Regions from separate parts of the Homo sapiens genome. Here region 2 is linked to region 1. Evidence: promoter capture Hi-C in 16 types of primary human blood cells and fetal thymus (Javierre and others, 2016). All regions are on one chromosome and are shown on one strand. Each heading gives the region's core, a stretch centred on a gene start or on the middle of the fragment in contact. The rest is flanking DNA. Distances are from core to core; before and after follow the strand shown.

Evidence for each region. Contacts are between HindIII fragments. The CHiCAGO score rates a contact against its expected background, and 5 or more counts as called.
Region 2: the fragment with the promoter of RPRD2 here is called in contact with the fragment with the promoter of C1orf56 in region 1 in 1 of 17 cell types (fetal thymus); the score reaches 5.1 in fetal thymus.

What each region holds. Positions count from the first base shown.
Region 1 is chr1:151,046,325-151,052,506 of GRCh38, reverse strand. It overlaps C1orf56 (chromosome 1 open reading frame 56), which reads right to left and starts at 4,756. Exons shown (of 2, transcript NM_017860.5): 1 at 3,655-4,756; 2 at 1,087-2,069. The coding sequence starts at 4,659. The coding sequence ends at 2,049. BNIPL (BCL2 interacting protein like) reads right to left here. Exons shown (of 10, transcript NM_138278.4): 10 at 4,787-5,856. The coding sequence ends at 5,820. CDC42SE1 (CDC42 small effector 1) reads left to right here. Exons shown (of 5, transcript NM_020239.4): 5 at 1-1,522. RefSeq lists enhancers at 3,859-4,098, 4,379-4,428. The HindIII fragment of the contact is 9,026 bases long and covers 2,271-6,182 here.
Region 2 is chr1:150,361,884-150,368,065 of GRCh38, reverse strand. RPRD2 (regulation of nuclear pre-mRNA domain containing 2) reads right to left here and starts at 3,919. Exons shown (of 11, transcript NM_015203.5): 1 at 3,147-3,919. The coding sequence starts at 3,351. RefSeq lists enhancers at 2,359-2,648, 3,132-3,411, 4,162-4,471, 4,632-4,701, 4,682-5,624. The HindIII fragment of the contact is 10,239 bases long and covers 1-5,476 here.

The DNA.
Region 1 (6,182 bases), core at 3,507-6,006:
CCTGCTGGCCCAGGTGAGAGGAGGAAGAGGGGTCTGGAAAGAAACCCAGAATGCGGCAGAACTAGGAGTAAGTCCATCTCAAGGTGGACTTCTGATCATTGAGGATGGTGAGATAAATAGGTTGAAAACAATCATCTGTGAGTTTAGGAGTCTTAAGATCCTCACAGCACGGGAGCAGGGAGAGGCTCTAGAACAAGGTTTCACAACCGAGATGCCTTTGACATTTTGGGCTGAAGTGTTCTTTGTAAGGAAAACCTGTTTCCTATTTTGTGCATTACAGGATATTTAGCAGCAACCCTGGCCCACTCTAGTTATGACAACCAAAAATGTCTCTATACATTGCCAGATTTCTCCTAGGGGGCAAAATCGCCTCCATTTGAGAACCACAACTCTAAAGTCAAGATATTTTTCTCTGAAGTGATTTCTGCTTGGCACGCTACCCTCATCATCTTACTCATCTTAAGCCCGAGCCATGGATCAACTAGGAGCCCATATAAATGAGGCTCAGTAGGGCTGCACATAATCTCCAAACAATTCTTTATTCAGTGTTTTGCTTGTGTTTGCATGTTGCTATGATGGACAGGTCCCCCTCCTCCATTCTTGCCCTCTGGAGAAGTGGTTCCTGCAGTGTAGAGATATGAACAGGGTATGGTAGGATTGGGGAAAGGGGAGAGAGAAGCAGTAGATACACTCCTTATCCTCCCCAAATTTTAAGCTCTATTTCTGTGCCCTAGTCCTAGACACACATTAGACTCAGGGAGTTTTGTCTGAAGACCAGGTCCCACTGCCCCCTGGCTGAAGAGTCTGCTTTAAATGGGAAAACAACGTAGGAGCAGGGGTTTTTAGGCACTTTCAGTATTCTCAGGTGTTCTTCGTTCTGGCCCTTCCAGGGTAATTAGGAAGGCAGAACAAGACAGATGAGCTCCTGCCTGCTCTGAGACAAGAAGGGTGGGGTCTCATTAGCTTTGCAACAGGAAACATCCTGTTTTATGGTAGTGGGGTCAGGAATGTAGGAACTGGTATCCATTCTGCCAATTCCACCACCCATTCAGTTTGCTTATCCCTACAGAACAGTGACTGAGGTTCTTTTTTTTTTTTTTTTTTTTTTTTTTTCAAATTTCCATGTATTTTCTGCCATTTTTCAGGGTCTAAGATTGGTCATACATTCCCAATTTACTCTCAGTTCCAGTCAAGCTGGTTGCTCTGAAAGTAACCCAGCTTGTTGCTCTAAAATACCTCAGTAGCCTGAGTGTTATACTAGAGATCTAAAGGGTTAACAGGATAGGGTGGAAAGGTTAGAGACTCCTAGAAATCTCTGGTCACCGTGATCTTCGGCCTCATTCTAATACCTGTTCTTTGGACAGTCTTTTTCCTTTGGTGCTCTCTTGCCTTTAGCTACCTTCTCTAATATGTATGCTACCATCACTAATAAAGTGATGGGAATGGGTTTGAGAGTCGTAATTTATATTAAAAAGTTGTTGGACTTTTAAATACATTTTTTCAAATAAAAAATTAAGCAAAATAGTTGCACAGTAATCATTGCAGGTGTGTGTTGGATTAAAGGATGGATATAGCTAATGAAGATAACTCCTCGAAAGTGGCTGAGATGGAATTTTGTACCAACATTGCCCTTTTGAGGAGAGAGGGCCAAGCATGAAGGCAAGAAGACCACTGTCATCTTTCAAGGGCTCAACTCCTTGTTCTTCCTACTCCCTTTTCTTAGCGTTTATTTGAGATTTTTCAAGCCTGTAAAAGAAGTACTTGTTTTAAAACAATGTTGGAAATGAGGAAAATGAGCAATATCAACATTTTATCCTGAGGGACAGGGAGTAGAAAACAAGCCAGAGGCTGCTAGTTACATAGTTCAGTCTTAGGGATGAAGGGATTTATGTCTCTCCTCCCTCAGGTACCTCTGTAAAGAAACACAAGACCAAACAATGTGTTTTCCAGTTTTGTTTTTCTGTACTAAAAATATCTAGTGGGTGCTAGGATTGAAAGGGCAAGAGAGGTTGAGATACTGACATCTCCTCATGTGGATGAAGTGGCCATTACCTCTGGTTTCTGTCTATCTGCGTAAGAAAAAAAAATAGAGAAAAAGGGAAATTACAACCACATCTATATTCTTTTCCCTTCCTTGCTTCATCTCCCCCTCCCACAAACCCATATTCCCTCAACCCTACTGCCCACCCCTTACTTATTTTTGTATGCAATAATGGTATTGGACACACAAGGAGAAAAACAGAAACAAGCAAAATGACCAAGTGTAAGCTTTATTACCTTTCCCTCCTCAAAGTCCTATCATCCGTATCAATTGAGACTACCTTATCAAGTCAATCAGAACCTTTGCTAATTCTGGGAAAAGCAGAGGACTATCCTTCCTTGTCCTGGAAGGACAGTACTCCCAAATGGTAGTGGTGAAGAGAGTGGGCACTGGTGTCAAACCTGGTTTAAATCTCGTGGCTCTGCCACTTACTAGCTTTGTAAACCTCAGTTTCTTCATCTGAAAAGCAGGGATAATAATACCTCATAGGATGTGAGGATCGATTCAGGTAAAGTGCACATAGTAAGACCTCAAATTTTGGCACTTGTTGCTGTTAAGCTGTATTAGGTCAAAACTATTAATTGATTAAGATCCTTCATATCTGTTAATTATCTGTGCATCAAAAAGACTTTATGGGCCGGGCACAGTGGCTCATGTCTGTAATCCCAGAATTCTGGAAGGCCAAGGTGGGCAGATCCTTGAGCTCAGGAGTTGGAGACCAGCCTGGGCAACATAGCGAGATCTTGTTAGCCAGGCATGGTGGTGCACGTCTGTAGTCCCAGCTATTCAGCAGGCTAAGGTGGGAGGATTGCTTGAGCCCAGAAGATGGAGGGTGCAGTGAGTTGTGACTGCGCCACCACACTCCAGCCTGAGTGATGAGAGACCCTGTCTCGAAAAAAAAGTCTTATGGTCAGGGGCACAGTAGCTCATGCCTGTAATCCCAGCACTTTGGAAGGCTGAGGCAGGAGAATTGCTTGAGCCCAGGAGTTTAAGACCAGCCTGGGCAACATAGCGAGATCTTGTCTGTGAAAAAAACAGAGAATTTCCAAGACCAGGCATGGTGGCTCATGCCTATAATCCCAGCACTTTGGGAGGCCGAGGCGGGTGGATCACTTGAGGTCAGGAGTTCTAGACCAGCCTGGCCAACATGGTAAAATGCTGTCTCTTCTAAAAAAAAAAAAAAAATTAGCCGGGCATGGTGGTGGGTGCCTGTAATCCCAGCTACTCAAGAGGCTGAGGCAGGAGAATTGTTTGAACCTGGGAGGCAGAGGTTGCAGTGAGCCAGGATCACGCCATTGCACTCCAGCCTCGGCAATAAGAGTGAAACTCTTGTCTTGAAAAAAAAAAATATTTCCAATCTTAACTATTTGGTCAATAATCACCTAATGAGCAGTAAGACATTTTACCTAATGACCAACCAGTAGTTGCTCAATAAATAATAGGTGGAATCAATGGCTAACAATGTGAATAACCAATGCATGTTATGAATCAATAACCAGGTAAGTCAGTAACAGTTCATGTAAGCAACACTGGCTGGCTTAGCAACTGGGTTTTAGATACCAGGACTTTTCAGATCCGTCAACAAAGACCCTGGCTCATCACCAAACACTTACTGGTTGCATCTCTGTGAACACTGAAGAGAGGCTATTCCAAATATCCTCCAGGCCAATCCTGACCCGTTTCCAAAAAGCCAGGGCTGGGCAGGGGCTGGCGGGTGGCAGGCTGGGACTGCTTCTGAGGTGGATGGTGGGGAAGGGGGTAGTGGTGGTCCTGGTACTGGTGGTGCTCTGAGAGGCACAGTTGGTGTCAGTACAGAGACTTGTGTCCAGGGGGCACTCTTCCCGAAGTCGGTTGCAGGGACATTGTTGATAGGTGCAAGGCTTGTGCTCCGTGCGGAGCTGGCTCAGCGCCCCAACTCGAAGGCGCCCGGAAAGGCCGTGCAGCTTCCCAGACCGGCTCCGGCTCATGGTGCCCGACTTGCAGTGGCAGTGCCACGGGCCCCAGGGCATCAGCACCAGCCGCAGATCCTCAGGAGATGGCATGGCTGTGGGTGAGGGTGACGGCCACCGGCTCGGGGTAGACCCAGGTGTGGACCACTGGCTCAGGGTGGCCTGCGAGCCTGGCAGGTCCTCAGTAGACCTCCCGGGGGAGCGCGGCAGGCTTGAAGTCAGCCTGATTTCAGGCTCCTGACTATTGGCTATAAACCTCGTGCTGGAACTCCCCGCTGTATTGGGAGTCGCACTGGGAAGCTCTCTGCTGGTGCTATCCTTTCCGGCATTAATCACAACCCCCTCTTCTGAAGACCCATCCTCCTCGTTAATGGCGGACGACCGGCTAAAGCCGGTGGACACCGTGGCGGCCAAGAGCTCGGCAGCCGCTGGTCCAGCCAGGCGGTCGGCGTCGGCCATGGCATCATTCTCGTCCTCTAGGATTATCCTTGTCTTCCGGGGAAGACCAGTCCGGGCGGTGCTCCGGTAGCTGCGGGTCATGGGGCCCCCAAAGCGTAAACTGACCCGCTGCATTTCGGTCGGAGTCTGGGTCAGGCCTTGGGCCCCCGCCGCCCGGGGACCCAGATTCAGCAGCAGGACCCACAGCAGCGCGCCGGCGGCGGGGACCATGGGGCTGGGCTCTTGGGGTTGGGAGGGTGGCCAGTGAGGCAAGCCCTGCCTCCTACCTTCGCTCCCTCCCTTCCGCTGTAGACCCACCGGGTCGTTTGAACCGAGGCCCGCGGGGAAGGGGGTGGGGTTCGACGCGCAGGCGCGCTCGCGCGGGCCGCGCGGGGTGCTCCTAAGGAACCTCTGCGGCAAGAACTCTGCCAGAACCGAAGGTTTGGGATGCAAGGGGTGGTGAAAGAGTCGTTCACTTCTTTGGAGCAGAGCTTAAATGTCTCATCGCAGTTTATTAGCCTCTACAGTTCTAAATTTACTAAAGAGGGCAAAAATACAGGTTTTGAAAGCACTCCTTCCCAGGCTCACAGGCAGCAGACATGACTTAGAAGGAAAAAGGGCATACAGCGGTTCTTCAAGATTTAATGAGCTGACTCTCCTGGCTCCCAGCAGGCAGGCTGGCTGTCAGGTAAGCCTCTTCCATCCAAGGTGGAAGGATCACAGTCCCTCCAGTTAGACAGGAGGAAAATTAGGACCCAAAAAGATGAAGTTATTTGCCCAAGGTTCTACAGCTAAAGTAGGATTAAAACCCAGAGCTCTGGCCGAGCGCGGTGGCTCACACCTGTAATCTCGGCACTTTGGGAGGCCGAGGCGGGCAGATCACGAGGTCAAGAGATCGAGACCATCCTGGCCAACATGGTGAAACCCCGTCTCTACTAAAAATACAAAACAATTAGCTGGGCGTGGTGGCGTGCGCCGGTAGTCTCAGCTACTCGCTGAGGCTGAGGCAGAAGAATGGCTTGAACCGGGAGGCGGAGGTTGCAGTGAGCCGAGATCGCACCACTGCACTCCAGCCTGGCGACAGAGCGAGACTCCGTCTCAAAAAACAAAAAACAAAAAAACCCAGAGCTCTGCATATCCCATACAAAATGACCCTACATTCAGCCTTCCGTCCCAGCAACTGGAATGAAAGTCACCCAGCAGATCAGTTTCCCAGCCTCAAAGCCCTGCTGAAAGTAGGGTCATGCAAAGGACAAAATCCCACTGAGAAGTGAAGATCCGGTGGTACTGAGGTTGGGGATAAGATGATTTACAAAACAGTTCAGATGTTTCAGGGATTCAGGTGTAGGCAGATCACTAACTGGTTCTAAGGCCTTTTATCCAGTCCTGTGCTATGTCCCTCCTGAGCCATGGAGATCCCGGTCCAGCCTAGGAGAGGGAGAGGGGGAGGAGAGAAGTGGTTCAGGGGGTAGGACTTGGGTTTTATTTTCTGGTTTGGGGAGAGAAGCCAGGTGAATTGGAAGAGCTAGATGATTGGGTTGAGTCATCATTTAGCACTTTTGCTCCCTAACACCCTCTCCCCCACTGGATATCATCTGTTCACTGCCAACACATCTCTTCCTAATTTCTAGGGCCAGTCTGAATCTCCTCTGCACTGTGATTATTCCTTTATTCCTTATTGCCTCTGCACTTATATGTATAGGTTTTTTTTTTTTTTCATTTATTCTTGTTGGATGCAGTAGTGTCCTTCATTT
Region 2 (6,182 bases), core at 2,670-5,169, 680 kb after region 1:
GAAATTCAGACCTTCAACTTGTTGCAATGGGATATCACTGCAGGGTTTTAAAGCAGAGGAATGACATTTGTTTATGCTACAGAAAGATCACCTTAGAAAATGATGGTCTGAGGTCAGGAGTTCGAGACCACCCTGGCCAACATGGTAAAACCCTGTCTCTACTAAAAATACAAAAATTAGCTGGACGTGGTGGTGCGTGCCTGTAATCCCAGCTACTTGGGAGGCTGAGGCAGGAGAATTGCTTGAACCCTGGAGGTGGAGGTTGCAGTGAGCTGAGATCGCGCCACTGCACTCCAGTCTGGACGACAGAGCGAGACTCCATCTCAAAAAAAAAAAAGTAAAGAAGGATAAAATAAAAATATCTCTGGAACATATCCTTAGATAGCCTATTTCTCTAAATTATTTCCTTTTATATGAACAAAAGTCTCATTACACACTGAAATAAAGGATAAAATTAAAATATCTCTGGAATCTAATAGTTACTTAAATTTATACTGAGGTCTAAATATAAATATAAATTACTAAATAACGGATGTCAGAAGAAAAAAGAGAAGCAAAGTGGCATCAGGAAAATGGACAGAAAGGCTGGGAATGCCAAAGATACCTGCTTCACAATTTTTCCTAAAGCTGACTTAGAAACCAAACTCAGAGTCCAAAGATACCTGCTTCACAATTTTTCCTAAAGCTGACTTAGAAACCAAACTCAGAGTAAACTAAGTATAACTGTAAAGAAATAAGAACTTAAATGAAAACAAGGCCCATGCATAAACTGTTTTCATTGCGCCCCACACCATTCTGCTGAATATTTCTCTCAAAACGCTTTATTTACAATGAGACCAGTGAAGTTCATTAAATGTAAATACAAAACGACTAAAATTACCCTTAATCATTTTAGAAAGTTAAATTCCATTCCACTAGAAAAACAACATCATATTTAGCCAAAAGCACTTAACTATATAAACTATACACAATGCACTTCAACTGACACACTGCCCTCCTGGAGCATTCATTTTTTCACTCTTAAGATATCAATAAAGGAAATAAGCTCAGGCACAATAGCAACAACAGCTGAGGTAAAAAATTCTGGCTTCATTTTATCTCATTATTGCTGACTAGAAAAAAAACTGTAATTGTCGCTTGTGATCCCACACAGCAGAGACGGGACAGGGACCAACTTATTCTTGCAAATGATGTAACCATACAGTTAAAGCCCCAGAGCCCAAGGTGAGGAAATGTAAAATGCTTGCATAGGTCAGTAAAAATGTTTTAAAATAGGGTGGAGAAGAGGTTCTCTCACTCACATTAGAACTGTTTGCAATATATCACTGGTATACCAAGAACGTTAAACATTATTTTACAAAGTTAATGATGAAGTCAAACCCTAACCCCACCATTTTACTGAGTAACCTTAAGCAACTTAATTTCCGAGTCTTAGTTTCCTCGTTTGTAAATCAGTGATTAAAAAATCTACTTCTCAGACGATTTTAAGGTACAATGAGATGACTGGGCACATAGCAGATACTTAACATGTGAGTCTTCAATGATGACTGTTATCATATTTGATGTTTTTGCACGTTATAATTTTACCTCTGGGCAAGAAAATAACTCTTTGATCGGTTATTGGTAAACACAGGTAATTCTGTCCGGTATCTACTAATTTCTCTGCATTATTATTCAAAGAACCACAAAACATCCCTCCCAAAACTTTAAACACAAATAGTTCGAAGCATGGGGCCTATAATTTTGCAAGTTTTATCTATCTGTTCTCTAAAAGGTAAACAAATCAAAACACTACAGGAGCAATGGCAGAAGTGGAATAAGGCAGAATAACTGGATGATGGGTCTCACTGGTGAAATGCCGCAGGCAGGAAGCAAAGAAAAATTCTAATAGATGTATATGGAGTATGAGTTAACCCTCTCTTCTCAGCAGGAAACAGTAACTTCTCCACACTTCCTCCTATAAGATTTGAAACGTTCTGCAAACAATCCATGCTTTAACAGAGCTCGTTTCTGCAGTAAAGCAGCAAAATGGAAAAATCTCCAGGATAAAGACAAAAAAAACATAACTGGAGAAAAAGGTACTACATATTCAAAAAGCACATTTCCTGTGCACATTACCCATGAGATCAACTCAATTGTGTAAAAAGGTATTTCAGGTAATTAAAAAGTAACGGGGCCGGGCACGGGGGGCTCACGTCTGTAATCCCTGCACTTTGGGAGGCCGAGGCAGGTGGATCACCTGAGGTCGGGAGTTCGAGACCAGCCAGGCCACAATGATGAAACCCCGTCTCTACTAAAAATACAAATAATTAGCCGGACATGGTGGCGGGCGCCTGTAATCCCGACTACTCGCGAGGCTGAGACAGGAGAATCGCTTGAACCCGGGAGGTGGAGGTTGCAGTGAGCCGAGATCGCGCCACTGCACTCCAGCCTGGGCGACAAGAGCAAAACTCCGTCTCAAAAAAAAAGAGGAACTGGACACGCTTTATATTTGAAGGTATTAACGATGATACTGACTACTGTATCGCAGTTGTTTCTGGTCAGTATCCAAGAAACCTGTATTTTATTGCAGCAAACACAGGTACAGGGAAAACCCGGTGGTGCCTCAGATCTATGTAGAGCTCATGCTGCTTCTTAACATTCATCCAGGTAAGGCTCTCCTTACTACACATCACAAGTTTTAGATACATTCATCCAGACAAGGCACTCCTCATTAAACATCACTGGATTTACTACTGCTTAAAACCACAGCTCGCCTACCATCAGGAAAGCCAGAAATCATTAACACGTCAAGGCCTGTAAGAAATAAACAGACGCTACAATTTCCGCGAAGGTTCGGAAAAATCAATACACCTTACAAGGCTCTGAAATATTAAAAACAATATACGTAAATCTCCATGGATCTGGGCCCAACGGCCCAAGGTCACAACAATTCAATGGCTAAAAAACCCAAGAAATGAGTCTCCTGCAATTCAGGACAATCCTGGCTAGGAATGGAGTCTGGGTTTGGGACCACTGGGGTCAAACCTTTAATGTGAACAACCCCAACCAAATGCTGCGGCTCCGTGGGAAAACCCCAAGCGTTTCAGGCCACACTTCCTTCCATTTCCCCAGTCTTCCCTTCCCTAGTCACCCCCAACACTCACATCTCCGGAGCCACTTCATCCAATGATAGACGATAGTACTGTGGTGTTTTTTGTTCTCTATACACCAAGACGACAAGCCTTGAATGGACTCCATGGTGTTGGTTACCGACTGGAATTTTCGATCCAACGAGGACTCCAGAGCCCCTGCCGAAGAGGCCGACGAGGAGGAGGCCTTACTGCTGCCTCCGCCGCCGCCGGCCGCCATCTTCCCGGTTTGCACAAGCGCTGCTGCTCCTCTGGCGGCGGCGGCGGCGGCGGCGGCGGGAGCGGGCAAAACAATCACTGCGAGTGCGTGAAAGCCGTAGGTGGGGAGGGAAGCTAGGGGGTGGGGATGGTGCACGCGCTGGGCTCTTCTGGAGGTACGGACGGGAACACCAGCTGCTGGGCACGCTGGCAGCTCCTACACGCTGCAAGGAGGGGCTGCGGGTCTCGGAGGTTTTATCAATATTGTTCAAGGGGTCGTGTTTAAACCAGTCAGTAATCACGGAAAAATTACGCAGAAAACAGGACCTGCAAAGCCTTTCAAAACGCCTGACGCCGAAACTAATCGTTTTATACTTTTCGGCTCTCAGTGCTAAGGCCCTTCCCCGCCCCTGTTCCCACACTCCTGTGAGCCAGGTCGGGCGTTAATATCTTAAATGTAATACTACCCGACTGCCCCTTCAGTTGCAGAAATCTTTCTTTCCTTTAGACTCGCTAGCACAGAAAAGGTCCAAGGCTACCTAGTCAGGATTTTTTTTGCAACGCAATAGCAGCAAAGGGGCAGCAACAGTATCGCGCACGCGCCACTTGGCCCCACCCCCCTACCCCTGCTTCCTTCTCAACCTTGAAAGCAGAGGGAGGCGTGATGGCGGGGCAACCTGACCAATCAGGAGTGGAGAACCACAAGCGCGCGCAGGAGCTCTGAAGCCCCCAGGGCCCAGGAGGCGCTACGATTATTTTTGCGCCTGCGCAGAAGATAAGCGTGTAACGGGATGGAAGGAAAAACTGGGAGGGATGGGTGAGGGAGCTGGTATAACTAAGGTTAGCCGGGTGGGGGGGTTCCCCTGCCCCGCCCTTTGCTGCTTTTGGCCGCTCTCTTGGGTGTGTTCAGCTCACACAACAGAGACAGAAAATTCCCACCACTGAGACCACTGTTAGTCTTCAGGGGGCTGCAGCCATCGCCCCCAACTCCTCGGAGGAGCAACGCGCGACAAAATGGCTGGCAGCCATCTTGCGGCACCACAAAAGATGCGCATGCGCCAGATCCAGTGAGCCATTCACTACGCAGACTCCGACACCAAACCGTATTTATTGCTGCCCATAGAAGATAACATTCACAGCCGCTTGACCATTTAGGTTACAGGAAAAGGAAATAAATGAGGAAGTGAAAGGAAATTTTCCTCATAAAATTTTTCGAGGCGAAAAAAGAATGGCAAGATGTGACCTCATTTTCGCCAGCTATGATACAATCTTAAAATTGCATAATACATTACAGTTTTCAAGAGTCTTACGTAACTATTATATGAACCTTATACGAACCATTTTATCGCAGGTATCTATGTAAATCCTCTGAGCTAATTTAAAGGCTCCTGTGTTCCCACTAAACATATACAGTTTTAATTCTTTTAACGTCTCCTCACTGCGGCCATGCCTCTTGAGGCAGGGAACCTGTTTTGTCAAGTTCATGTCCACTATTCATTAATTCAACGAGTTGTTGAACCTCTTGTGCCAAGTACTGTTTTAGATCATGGGGAGCAAAACAGACAAAAATCCGTTCCCTCCGGGATTTAGTGGCAGGACACCACCAACAAGTACATTTCAGACAGTATTAAATTCTGTAAAAAGGTGAAGCAGGGTAAGGGAGAAAGGGGTGTGTGTGTGTGCGCGCGTGTGTGTACGTGTGCACGGCACGCACGCGCCAGTATAAGAATGGTGGTATGGTGAACCAGGAAGTCTTCTCGAAAGAAATAACTCGATCTGAACATTGAGAAAAAAGCAACCAAGCAGATATGCGAGACGGGGAGCGGAACATGCTGGCATTAGGAACAGCAAGTGCAAAGGCTCTAAAATACAGTCTCGCTCTGTCCCTGCCAAGGCTAGAGTGCAGTGGCACTATCATATCGCACAGCAGCCTCAATCCCCCAGACTCAAGTGGTCCTCCTGCCTCAGCAGCACAAGTAGCTGGGACTACAGGCCTGCACCACCACACCTAGCTAAAAAAACAAAACAACAACAACAACATTTTTTTGAGAGGGGGAGTCTCCCTATGTTGCCCAGGCTGGTCTCAAACTCCTAGCCTCAAGCAGTCCTCCTGCTTTCAGCCTCCCGAAGTGCTGGGATTATAAGCTTGAGCCGCCATGCCTGGTCCTGACCCCACATTTTTTTTTTTTCTGTAACTCTAGCCAAAGACCCACTTTTTTATAGACTATTTTTAGAGCAGTTTTAGATTCACGGCAATTGTGTGGAAAGCACAAGGAATTCCATATACCACCTGCCCCCACACATGAATACCCTCCCCCATTATCAATGTCACGCACCAGAACGATACATCTGTTACAACTGACAAACCTACACTGACACATTATCACCCAAAGCCCATAGTTTACATTAGGGTTCGCTCTTGGTGTTATACCTTGAGTTTGGACAAATGTGCATGTATCCACCATTACAGTATCATACAGAGCAGTATCACTGCTCTAAAAACCTCTGTGTTCCACCTATTCATCCTTCCCTCCCCCTTATTCCCCTAGCGACTACTAATCTTTTTACTGTCTTCATAGTTTTGCCTTTTCCCGAATGTCATATAGGTGAAATCATTCAGTATGTAGCCTTTTCAGACTGGCTTTTTTCACTTAATAATATGCATTTCAGGCGGGGCACGGTGGCTCATGCCTGTAATCCCAGCACTTTGGGAGGCCGAGGTGGGTGGATCACGAGGTCAGGAGTTCGAGACCAGCCTGGCCAACATAGTGAAACCCCCGTCTCTACTAAAAATACAAAAATTAGCCGTGCATGGTGGCGCACGCCTGTAGTCCCAGCTACTCCGGAGGGTGA